Regions from separate parts of the Homo sapiens genome. Here regions 1 and 3 are each linked to region 2. The links are contacts of gene promoters, found by promoter capture Hi-C in human tissues and cell types (Jung and others, 2019). All regions are on one chromosome and are shown on one strand. The core of a region is centred on a gene start or on the middle of the fragment in contact, and the rest is flanking DNA. Distances in the headings are between cores, read along the strand shown.

Region 1 (3,795 bases), core at 168-2,667, 60 kb after region 2:
CCAGGCAAATGGACTATTCACTTTTCCTATTTTGCAAGGACACTGTCCTTACTTGGCATGTGTGGTAGACGAAATAATGCCCCCCACCCAAGATATCCACTCCCTAGTCCCAGGAGCCTGTGAATGTGTTACTTCACATGGCAAAGGCGATTCTGCAGATGTGGTCAAATTAAGGATCTTGAAGTGGGGAGGGTGTCCTGGATTATGCAGCAGGGGTCCCAGTGTAATCACCAGATCCTTACATGAGAGACGGAGGTGACAGTGGTCAGTCAGTGTGATGCAATGTGAGAAACACTCGACCAGCTGTTGCTGGCTTTGAAGATGGAAGGGAGCCTTGAGCCAGGGAACGTGGGCTACCTCTAGAAGCTAGAAAAGGCAAGAACTCAATTCTAGAGCTTCCATAAGGGGACACAGCCTGTTGACACTTTGATTTAGCCCAGTGAGATCCATTTCAGACTTCCGACCCCCGGAACTGTGAGATAGTAAATCTGGGTTGCTTTAAGCCACTGAGTTTGCAATAATTTGTTACAGCAGCAATAGGAAACTCATACAGTATCTTATGCTGCTCCCTCTGTCTGGGACACCTACCTTTCCCCACTCTCATCTCCACAAGTCCTCCCCAACCTTTCAAGGTCCAGCTTCAGTTCCCCCTCTTATCACGGAACTTCACTTGTCCTGCCTCTCCCCCCGAGCTATTATCCACCCCTTGGGAATTGTCCAACACATCCCCAGCTCCACAGCCCAGGCCCAGGACTGTCCTTCTGCCCTTAAAACACTGTGGTCAATGGCACCAGTTTTTCCCTTCAGCACAACTGGTGCAGACATTTTCAAGAATTCTACTAAAAATCAAAGGGGAAAAGGAATGATCTTCCAAACCACAAACATGAGAAAAATGTGTTATGCTCTCAAGTACAATTTTTTAATTCAAAAAATCCAAGTAGCAGTAGAATGCTGCCAATAGCAACCCTGAGGCACTGTCCTGGCTTCCTGCCCTCCTCCTCCCTGCTGGCTCTCTCCCGGATGATGTCTTGCCCACCGTGGAGCCATCTGATCCCCTCTGGGGCCTCCCACATTTATAGGTTCACACCTTCTGGAGCTCATTTGCTCACTCAGTTCTAGTACGAGGGCCTCAACCAGTCTGCAGCCTTTGGAAGGGCTCTCCTGATGGTCACAGTGGCAGGAGTGCCATATAATTCATGGTCCAAACTAAAACACTTTAGAGAGTAAAAGGAGGTATTAATTGTGCTTGAGTCAGGCGTGGTGGCTCACACCTGTAATCCCAGCATTTTGGGAGGCCGAGGCAGGTGGATCACTTGAGGCCAGGAGTTCAAGACCAGCCTGGCCAATATGGTGAAACCCTGTCTCTACTTAAAGGATACAAAAATTGGCTGGGCATGGTGGCACGCGCCTGTAGTTCCAGCTACTCGGGAGGCTGAGGCAGGAGAATCGCTTGAACTCGGGAGGCAGAGGTTGCAGTGAGCCAAGATTGCAACACTGCACTCCAGCCTGGGTGACAGAGCGAGACCCCATCTCAAAAAAAATAAAAAATAAAAAATACATTGTGCTTGAAGAATGAGTGTAAACCCGACTGTCCTGGGCAAACCACCCACCTCAGCAGTGAGGGGTCTGACTCTTGCTGGCTTGGGTTGTTTGAGGACCCACTTGGGAGCAGCCAGCGCTGCTCTCCTCAGTTCATTTACTAACGCTGATAAAGGGAACAACGTGCTAACCTCATGCTAACCACCCAGACATAAAAGATACAGTCAGACACTAGCAGAAGGCCAAATCAGCGGAGGGTTAAGAAGCGTTCTATGGAAAATTGTGCTCTGTGCTCAGATAAGTCTGGAAAAGCTGTTTTGCATAAGAGTATTTAAGTTTTGGTCTTTAAGTGCAGGACTTCTCAGGACCTTTAATATCCTAATGTGGGTTATGAAGCTCCAAGAAGAAAATACAGTATGCCGTATTTCAGATTTATTTTCCTGTGGCATATGGCCCCCTCAGAATACATTTGGTTGCTTTCCAGGAATCACATATGGTTCCTTCAGGGATTGTTTGAGGCAGATCTGAAATATCAAAGTGGCTAGTATTCTCTGATTTAGGAAATCCAAGTTCCCTTTCACTAAGGAAGCCTCCAGAGATAGATGGCTTATCCCTGAAGAGTCCTTGGAATCCATAAGCCATGTTTCTCTGGATGTGGTAGGAAAGGCTCTGGGGAAGGGAGGGGGTGTTGACAGGCACATATTGAGTGACTGCTTGTATCAGGTAAAATCTGGCCGGGGCTCCTTGTCTCCTGAGTGATGGTTGTTTTAGCAGTTGCGTTATCTTTTGCTAAAAAACCCAGGGGATTCTAGAGTGTCAAGCGATAACAGGGTGGGGCTTCTATCTTCAGCCTTACCCTTGGACCTGAGGCCTGAAGATAAGCCTGCTTCTTATCACAGATTTATTTTTACTATCTTCCAAGCCTGGGACAACAGCTGTTTATAGGGGATGGTTGAGTTGAGTGTTGATTCTGCTGTGGAGGAGGCAAAGTCCCTGCAGTCTGCACATTCGACAGTCTTCATCCATAAGGCATGAGGCCGGAGACCCGTAAAAAGAGTACATTCCTGCGATGGCCCACAGTTGATTATCCACACAGGAAAAATGAAGAACATTTCTTCCTCCAAGAGTCAGTATTTATCATCTCCCTGTTTCTGTCATCATCCTGGGCTTTTATTCCTAGACAATTTTGTACCATTGAGTGCTTTATGATTAGAAATAAATCAGTCCAAGTGTGGTGGCTCATGTCTGTAATCTCAGCACTTTGGGAGCCCAAGGTGGTAGGGATGCTTGAGCCCAAGGGTTCTAGACCAGCCTGGGCAACATAATGAGATCCTGACACTACAAAAAATTAAAAAAATTAGCTGGCCTGGTGGCACATGTTTCTGACCCTGGCTTCTTGGGAGTCTGAGGTGGGAGGATTGCCTGAGCCTGGGAGATTAAGGCTGCAGTGAGCTGTGACTGCACCACTGCACTCCAGCCTGAAAAACAGAGTGACAGCCTGTCTCAAAAAACAAAGAGAGAAAGAGAAAGAAAGAAAGAAAGAAAGAAAGAAAGAAAGAAAGAAAGAAAGAAAGAAAGAAAAGAAAAGAAAAGAAAAGAAAAGAAAAGAAAAGAAAAGAAAAGAAAAGAAAAGAAAAAAGAAAAGAAAAAGAAATAGATCAAAGCTCATCATATCAACCAGGAACAGTGCACACCCAAGGATTCTGAGGACGAACACGCTGTGTGGTGGGGAGACCACTGATGAGGAAGTCGGAAGACCCAGGCCTGTCTCCAGTGTTTTGCCCCTTACCAGCTCTGGGCTTCAGGGTTTTCGTGTTTGTTTGTTTTTAATCCATAAAATAAGATTTTGAATGAGATTATAATAACCAAGTGTCCGGTATATCATTTGTATCAAATGTAGCAGCATCAAAGTTTACTAACCAAGAATAAGAAATGCATTAATTTTGTGTGTGTACACGCACACACACACACACACAAACACACACACACATTTGACCACATCGTGCTTTAGAGTTATTTCCTTCTAAAAGCAAAAAACATTTACATTTACCAATTAAAGGTAATTCTGCCTCTTCTAATTCGACTGTCTCTTTTGTGTAAATATTCAGTTAATTCTAAGTTCAGCTTGCTGTCTGAAATGATGATACTCATCTCCCAAGGAATCTCCTTACCCCTCTTCCTTTCCAAGGCACCTCTCGAGGCAGGGGAAGACACATGGATTCTCCTGGAGTGGTGGGTAGGTAGGTCTGGGCTCCA
Region 2 (3,619 bases), core at 412-2,911:
TGATTTCTGTGAAAACACCTTAGTTTTCTGCCAACCAGCCTCCAGCTGAGCCAACACTAAAGACTGTTGAGAAAATAGGCATGTATGGATTTAAGCCTCAGCGTTTATGGCCTGGTTTTAGTTTTTCTTTTATGATTCTTTACATTATTAATTTTCAATTAATCGACTAATTACCAGTTCTAATTGAGTCAGCCAGACAGACTAATGTGTTTTCAAAAGGCCAATTTGCCCTCAATCATCTCAATATCTCTTAACTTTTGGAGCTGAAAAGGACCTTAAAGATAACCCAGTCTGATGCCCTCAAGTCACAGATGAAGATGCCCAGGCCCCAAGAGAGGATGTCTTTGACCATGGCCCTCTGGTGACTAGGAAAGCTACATAAGGGCTTCTCCCACTGTTCCACCTAGAAGGCAGTCCTATGAGGGCCCGGAAGAATGCTGTAGCAGGCAGAATACTGATCTCCCAAAGGTGTCCTAATGAAGCCATGCCCCAAAGAGTTAAAAAAACCAATGACTAACAGAAATTCTTGAGTTTGCAGGATGGCAGGTAAGAAAAGAAACAACTTGCTGAAATACTGAAACTCCCTCTGCTTATGAGATATAAGAACTGGCTGAAATCAGCTGGAACCAAGATGGCCGACCAGAGTCTAGGCAGAACCAGCTTGCTGATGTCACAGACTAAATTTCCACCATGTGCTTTATACTAACTTTCCCCATAATTGCCCAGGGGACCCATAAAATAGTATGAAGAGATAACTGCATATGACCCAGGACTTTCCAGCCCTTCCCTTTCTTCCACCAAATCACCTACTAATCTTAGAATCCCCTAAACTTTTTCTAATAAAAATACTGCATCACAGGAGACAGATTTGAGGTTGACACTGCTGTCTCCTTGAAAATCGACAATATATTGATTATATATTTAAAATTAAATATTTATATTTCAATAAAAAGCCTTTTCTCAAACACCCAGTGTCATAGCGTTGGCTTCCAATGCATTGAATCACTTTTGTTCGGTAACACTCACCCCTGGAACCTCTGAATGTGTTAGTTTGCATGGCAAAAGAGACTTTGCAGATGTGTTTAAGGTTAAAGACTTTGAGAAGCAGAGGTTATCCTGGATGGTCCGGCTGGACCAATCTAATCATGAGTCCTTAGACAGGGAAGGGGAGGAAGAAAAGAGGGTCAGAAAGATACAATGACAGAAGAAGAGGCAAGAGAAATTCAAAGTGTGAGAGGGTTTGACTCACCCTTGCTGGCTTTGAAGATAGAGGAAGGCAACAGAGCTAAGAAATGCAGACAGTGCTTAGCAGCTGGGAATGGCCCTTAGCCGACAGCCAGCAAGGAAACAGGGAACTCAGCCCTGTGACTGCAGAAACTTTATTCTGCCAACAACCTCAATGAGCAAGGGAATGAATCCTCTTCTAAAGCCTTTGGGAAGGAGCACAGCCCTGCTGACACCTTAATTTTAGGCCTGTGAGACCCATTTCTGACTTCAGGGCTATAGAACTTTAAGATAATAAATTGTGTTGTTTAAGCCACTAAATTTGTGGTAATGTATTTCAGCAGCAATAGAAAACTAATACAAATGTGACAGTGACAGACCCTCCCTTTTTCAGAATATCCTGGTGCATAGCAACTGATGTCATAGAAAGGATTCTAGAAGAGCATGTCATGGAGAACTCTTGGGTGCAGACAAGTGGATGATTAATGAAGTAGCATCTGAAAAACCCAAGGAACCAAATGTAGGTGGAGCAACTTCCCTGCAACACACGTCGAAGCTGCTGCAGTGGCTGTTCTTCCCCTCCCCTTGGAAAGGCACCAAAAGCCAGCCTTTGGAAGGGCTGGTGGACTGGTAGGCGGGTATATGGTGGGCAGGAGGGTAACGGGCATGACAATACCCAGCTGCAGGAGAAGCTCATCAGCAAATTCACTTATTGCTTATTTGATGACAGTTCAGTTGGGAAGAGGAGGTTTTTGTTCATTCATTCATTCAACAAAGTTTCATTGAGCACCTACTCTGTATTAGGTTCTGTTCTGAGTTCTGGGGATAATGAAGAGAAAAAACCAGACCAGGTTTCTGCATTCCTGGTGCTTACACTCAGGTATGGGAGAGAGAAAATAAGCAAGTGAACAGATAAATGAGCAATGGAATTCCTGATATTGATTAATGGTATGAAGAAAATAAAGACCGTCTTCTTTGATGGGGCAGTGATCAAGGAATCTTCTTTGAGGTAGTGAGCTCGTATGTGGTGGTCAGGGCAGTCATGTTCCAGGTAGAAGGAATGGCTGGTGCAAAGGACCTGTGGTGGGAATGAAATTGGCATATTCAAGGAAAAGAAATGTGCAAGGTGACTATGGCAGAGTGAAGGTGAACAAAGGAGAGAGTGATGTAAATTCAGACTGGAGAGGTGCTCAGTGGCTGCATCAGAAAGTCTTGTCAGCCAGGTTGAGGAGTTGGGACCTTATTCAAAGTGCAAGGGGAATCCACTGGAGATTAGTGATGTGACTGGACACATGCTTTATAAAATGCCTTTCCAACTGCTGTGTGGGCAGTGGGTTTAGGGGAACAGAGAGGAGTATGTAGTAGAGGAGTGTAGTTAGAAAGTCTCCACCTTAGAGGTGATGGTGGTCTGGATTAGGATGATGGCAGAAAAGATGAGAGGCGAATAGGTTCTGGAAGAACTGTAGATGGCACACCCTGATGAACCTGATGAACTGGCTTCTGGGGGAGAGGGGAGGAGAGGACTCAGTATGCCTTCTACGAGTTGAGATGATGCCTGCCCTGTGGAAGACAGACATTACCAGAAAATGTTGTTTGCTCTGTTGGGAAATGAAACATGCATTGAGATTCACTTTTTTTAATTATTATAATTTAAGTTCCAGGGTACATGTGCACAATGTACAGGTTTGATACATCAGTATAAAAGGGCAGGGGTGCAACCAGAGCTAAGAAAAATGTCCATACAAGTAAAATCTAGTGCTGTGCATATTTAATTCACTTACTCTTCAAATCAACACAATTAATTAAGTACTGTTTTAATCTGTGTTACAGATGAGGAAACTGAGGAATCAAGAGGTTGAGCAATTTGTCTAAGATTACTGCTGGGATCACTGATATCTCAGCCACTGAGGGGTAAAGCTGGAACTTGGACCCAGGCAATCTGATTCCCAAGTCTGAGCTCTTAAATGCAAGGCCCTCCTAGATACTGTATTTGGTGTACTGGTCATGTCTGCAACTAATCATACAGCTTGAGAGTTTGAACAAACGTTTGAAAGTATGATTCTTCTAATTCATGAATACACTTATTTCTAACTTTTGCCCAAGTTAGACATTTCTCAACAGGGGGCAATTTTGTCCCATAGGAACATTTTTGTCTGACATAATTTGGAGGCAGAGCTACTAGCATCTAGAGGCCAGGTGTACTCCTAAACAATCCAATGCACAGGATGTTCCCAGAACTAAGCATATTCCAGCCCAAGTGCCAAGGTTGAGAACCCCCGGTGTAGGTGTATACAGCCAGGAAGACATGCACCTGTGAACGGTGACAAACAGGAGGGTGCAATGAATTGTCCAATTGATATATAACGATGGAGTGCTAGGGGCTATGGGGTATTCC
Region 3 (3,658 bases), core at 811-3,310, 36 kb after region 2:
AAAGGTCAGACTGCTCTGGAATACTGTCCTACTGCTTCAGGATCCTGCAGCCCTTTGCCCCATCTCATTTCCATGCCTAATGCAATTTTAGAGCATGATGTGTAGTAAGCATGGCTAAAAATTCTGGAAGATTTATTACATTCCCTTGTTCTATAGATCAAGGACAATTTTTAATAAATCCTTGCTTTTGCTGAATGATTTAATATGCCATTGTCTAGGCAACAGAATTGTCTTCAATTAGATTTTAAAACTAATATAGGAAGAAACTTTCCCCTTTCCTTGCCAACATTATTAGATAAGGCCATAAGTCCTGATCAAGAACAAAATTTGCTGGTGCCTCATGGGGACCTTGAAACCGGATTCTCTTTTGCAGCAGTATGGCTCCCTACCTTTTATTCCAGGGCAGGCACCCTGTTGAGGTGGTTGAGGCTACCAGTGGGAAGTGCCCACAGCCACATAGGGCCAGGTGCTGCTCATATAGAGAGATCCGCCCCCGCCAGAGGAAACTGACTTTGGAGAATGAGTCACTCGTTGGGGTCTGGCCCTCAGCCATGTAAGCTCAGAAATTCAATCTTTTAAGTTCCAGAAGTTATTGGATGCTTGAATAAACAACCACTGAGGGACCTGAGAACAAACTGGAAAGAAAATTGACTAATTCTGAGCAGTCTGGAGGTTCACATCAGCCAGATGAGCACATGTTCTCCCTGGAGGCATTGATCTTGGGAAGCCATGTTATCCCAGAGTGGCTTCCTACCCAGGAACTGGCAATGAAGGGCTATTGATGTAAAGTGATGTTTTAATGGCCCCAGGCTTCCCAGGGCAGAGGGTGGGGGGGCACCAACAATGTTCAGCCTCTACTTCCCCACCTTCAGGCTTCCCTGGTCAGCCATGGCCTCCATCAATGGTCCCATTCTCCCTGCGAAGGGTGGATTCCACTGCAGGCCTGGAACTTGTTCTTGGGCCTCTGCACTTCTGCACATTCCTTAATGAGCTGATTTTATGGCTTAACTCTCAGGACATCCTTAATTCCTTCATTTCCACAACCTTGAGGGGTCTGTTTTAGTCGCCCTTATGTGGGTAGAATCTTGGTTTTGATGGCACATGAAGGTGGGGAGGATTGTGGATTTGGGTGGCAGGCGGTGCCATTCTGAGTAGTGTGATAACAGGAGTCACTGTGAGGTGCTGTCGATACACACCTCAGAATCATTAGCTCCTTTAATCCTTCCCACAATCCTGTAAGGAAAGTACTAGTATATTTCCCAATTGACTGAATTCATTCCATCTTTATAACAATGTCTTAAAAGAACATCCAATGTCCCCGCTCCTGCTTTCTGCTGCTGCTGGTGGAGCCTGAAGATAAAGAGGGGGAGTCAAAGGGCTAAAGAGAAGCATAATATATTCTTTAATAAGGAGAACTCTGATGAGCATATTCCTCATGCTTTCTTGTTCATATTACAGAGCATATTTTCATGAATGTGTTCTCCTTATGCCTCCTCAGCCCCCAGCCTGCCTCTCTAGTCCTGTCTCCCCGGCTCTTCCCTCAGCTTCCCTCTCTCTGGGTACTTCAGTCTTCAGTCGAAGAGCAGAGTGCTAAGGCAGACACAAGTTGCATATTTCATAAAATCCTATTATGTAGACAAGATGAAAGCTGGCTAATGAGAACAGAATACTTAAAAGAATCAGATAATTTGGTGGCTCGCTCATTTGGCAGGATGGCTCCCAGTGTACTGGGCAAACTTAGCCATTTGGCTTGACTTTTGACTGTCTTTAGGTAAAGTAACCAGGGCTTGTTTTCCAAATAAGGAAAGCAGAAGCTAGAGAGGCTGAGGAAGTTGCTGGATGTCACAATAACAACGGTTAGATCGACTATTCTACAAAAGTCTGTCTGAAGCTGAGTTGGTGTCTTTGTGCCATTCAGCAGGATAAGAGCACAGGAGAGAAGACAGGATAGAACTCAGAATGGCTCTTGGTGTAGCTGAAGAACTGCTTGTGGAGGCGGGGGGATCCTTGATTTTTAGGCACCAAAAAGTCAGATACTAGGCCAGGTACAGTGGCTCACACCTGTAATCCCAGCACTTTGGGAGGCTGAGGTGGGCGAATTGCTTGAGCCCAGGAGTTCAAGACCAGACTGGGCAACATGGTGAAACCTGGTCTCCACTAAAAATACAAAAAATTAGCTAGGTATGGTGGTGCACCCCTTTAGTCCCAGCCACTCAGGGGAGCTGAGGTGGGAGGATGGGTTGAGGCTTCAGTGGGCTGTGATCATGCCACTGCACTCCAGCCTGGGCAACAGAGTGAGACCCTGTCTCAAAAAAGTTTTAAAAAAAGTCAAATACTATGAATGCCAGAAAGGAGAGAAAATAATTGAGGAGCAATTAGAAAAACTTAATTTATTGTAAGAAAATACACAATGCAAGGTGTGATGCTCTGTGGCTCCTGTCACTTGGCACCAGTGGCGAGGATACAGCAGGGACAGGTGGGGACTGAGGTGAGCTGAAGGGAGGGCCGTATCAGTGTTGTTGATTCTGTAATTTTTCAAAAACAGCTAGAAATCCTGATTTTGATATTAAATCTCCCAAGTCGTAAGTGTAACTTCAAATTAATTCATACTGGCTCAGGATATCGGTGGCCTCGACAGTTGGTTGGCATGAAACCATCACTAAATCCCAAAGCTGGGTGAAAAGTACTGTGCTGTGGGGGATGAAAATTCTGACTACAGTGAAGAATAGATGAAGAGGTCAAGAAGTACTTACAAGAATAACATTTTACCACTAAAAAGAAATCCATTTCAACTATGTCACCCCCTGCACTTGGAGTGAATAATTTAAAGTACAGGTTTTGGAACCAGAAAAGTCTGTTGCTGAATCCCAGCTCTACCACTGATTTGCTCTGCAACCCACAGCAAATCGATCAACCTTTCAGTGCCTTTGTTTCCTCACACCTTAATTCCTGAGCTTTCAATGCAATAAGATATATGAAAAGCAAGATAAGGAGCAGATGGAAGGTTCTTAAACAATGGTACTTGCTAAAATAGCAATACTGAGAATTATCATTGTGATAATAATGATAACTATTATCAGTAAATTTATAAACCTCGAGGAACGCTCTACTGGGAACTCGGTTTCTAAAAGTTATTTTCCTGGGTGTTTTTTCCATGAGGATGATGAGGCATTTTGGTCTTACTTTTTCATTTCATTATCCTTACATTTAGAAGTCACAAAGCCTAACCCATATATATATACATATTAGCAAATATATACATGTATTTTTATTTCTGTCTGCAAAGCATTCAGGGAACTCAAGTAATCCATTGAAATTCAAACCCAGTGGGAATTTCTGACACTGGACTTTAACAGCTTAAGGCATCTCAAAAAGCTTCTATCTACTGACCTTTAAGGGAAGGTGTGCTTTGGGAGGATTCACACAGAATTCAGCCACTTTCTGATGCACAGGGCTTCTTAATTCCATTCTTCATCCCTTCCTGATTGTGCATGTCTTAGTGTGCTATTCAGCTTAGCCCAATCTGTAGTCATTGCCGGCAATGAGAAAAGTGGTCGTTCTTAAGGTTCTCCCCCAAGGACCTGCACACACACATGCACACCCTCCCCCACGCCCATGCTATGGCTAAAGCTAAACAGCTTGTACTAAGAGCTGGGTA

The links. The method cuts DNA at HindIII sites, captures the fragments that hold promoters and counts their contacts. A contact is called where the count stands out against the background at its distance.
Region 1: a contact is called between a fragment that was not itself captured here and the fragment with the promoter of LYZL4 in region 2, in 1 of the 25 tissues and cell types used here (mesendoderm cells).
Region 3: a fragment that was not itself captured here is called in contact with the fragment with the promoter of LYZL4 in region 2 in 1 of the 25 tissues and cell types used here (spleen).

Annotation. Positions count from the first base shown.
Region 1 is chr3:42,348,518-42,352,312 of GRCh38, reverse strand. No RefSeq gene overlaps it. Among named protein-coding and RNA genes, the nearest start is that of LYZL4, 60 kb to the left of the region's middle. The HindIII fragment of the contact is 5,410 bases long and covers 1-3,795 here.
Region 2 is chr3:42,408,652-42,412,270 of GRCh38, reverse strand. LYZL4 (lysozyme like 4) reads left to right here and starts at 1,661. Exons shown (of 5, transcript NM_144634.4): 1 at 1,661-1,854. The HindIII fragment of the contact is 17,536 bases long and covers 1-3,619 here.
Region 3 is chr3:42,373,492-42,377,149 of GRCh38, reverse strand. It overlaps a transcript of LYZL4 not described here. Among named protein-coding and RNA genes, the nearest start is that of LYZL4, 35 kb to the left of the region's middle. The HindIII fragment of the contact is 7,901 bases long and covers 1-3,658 here.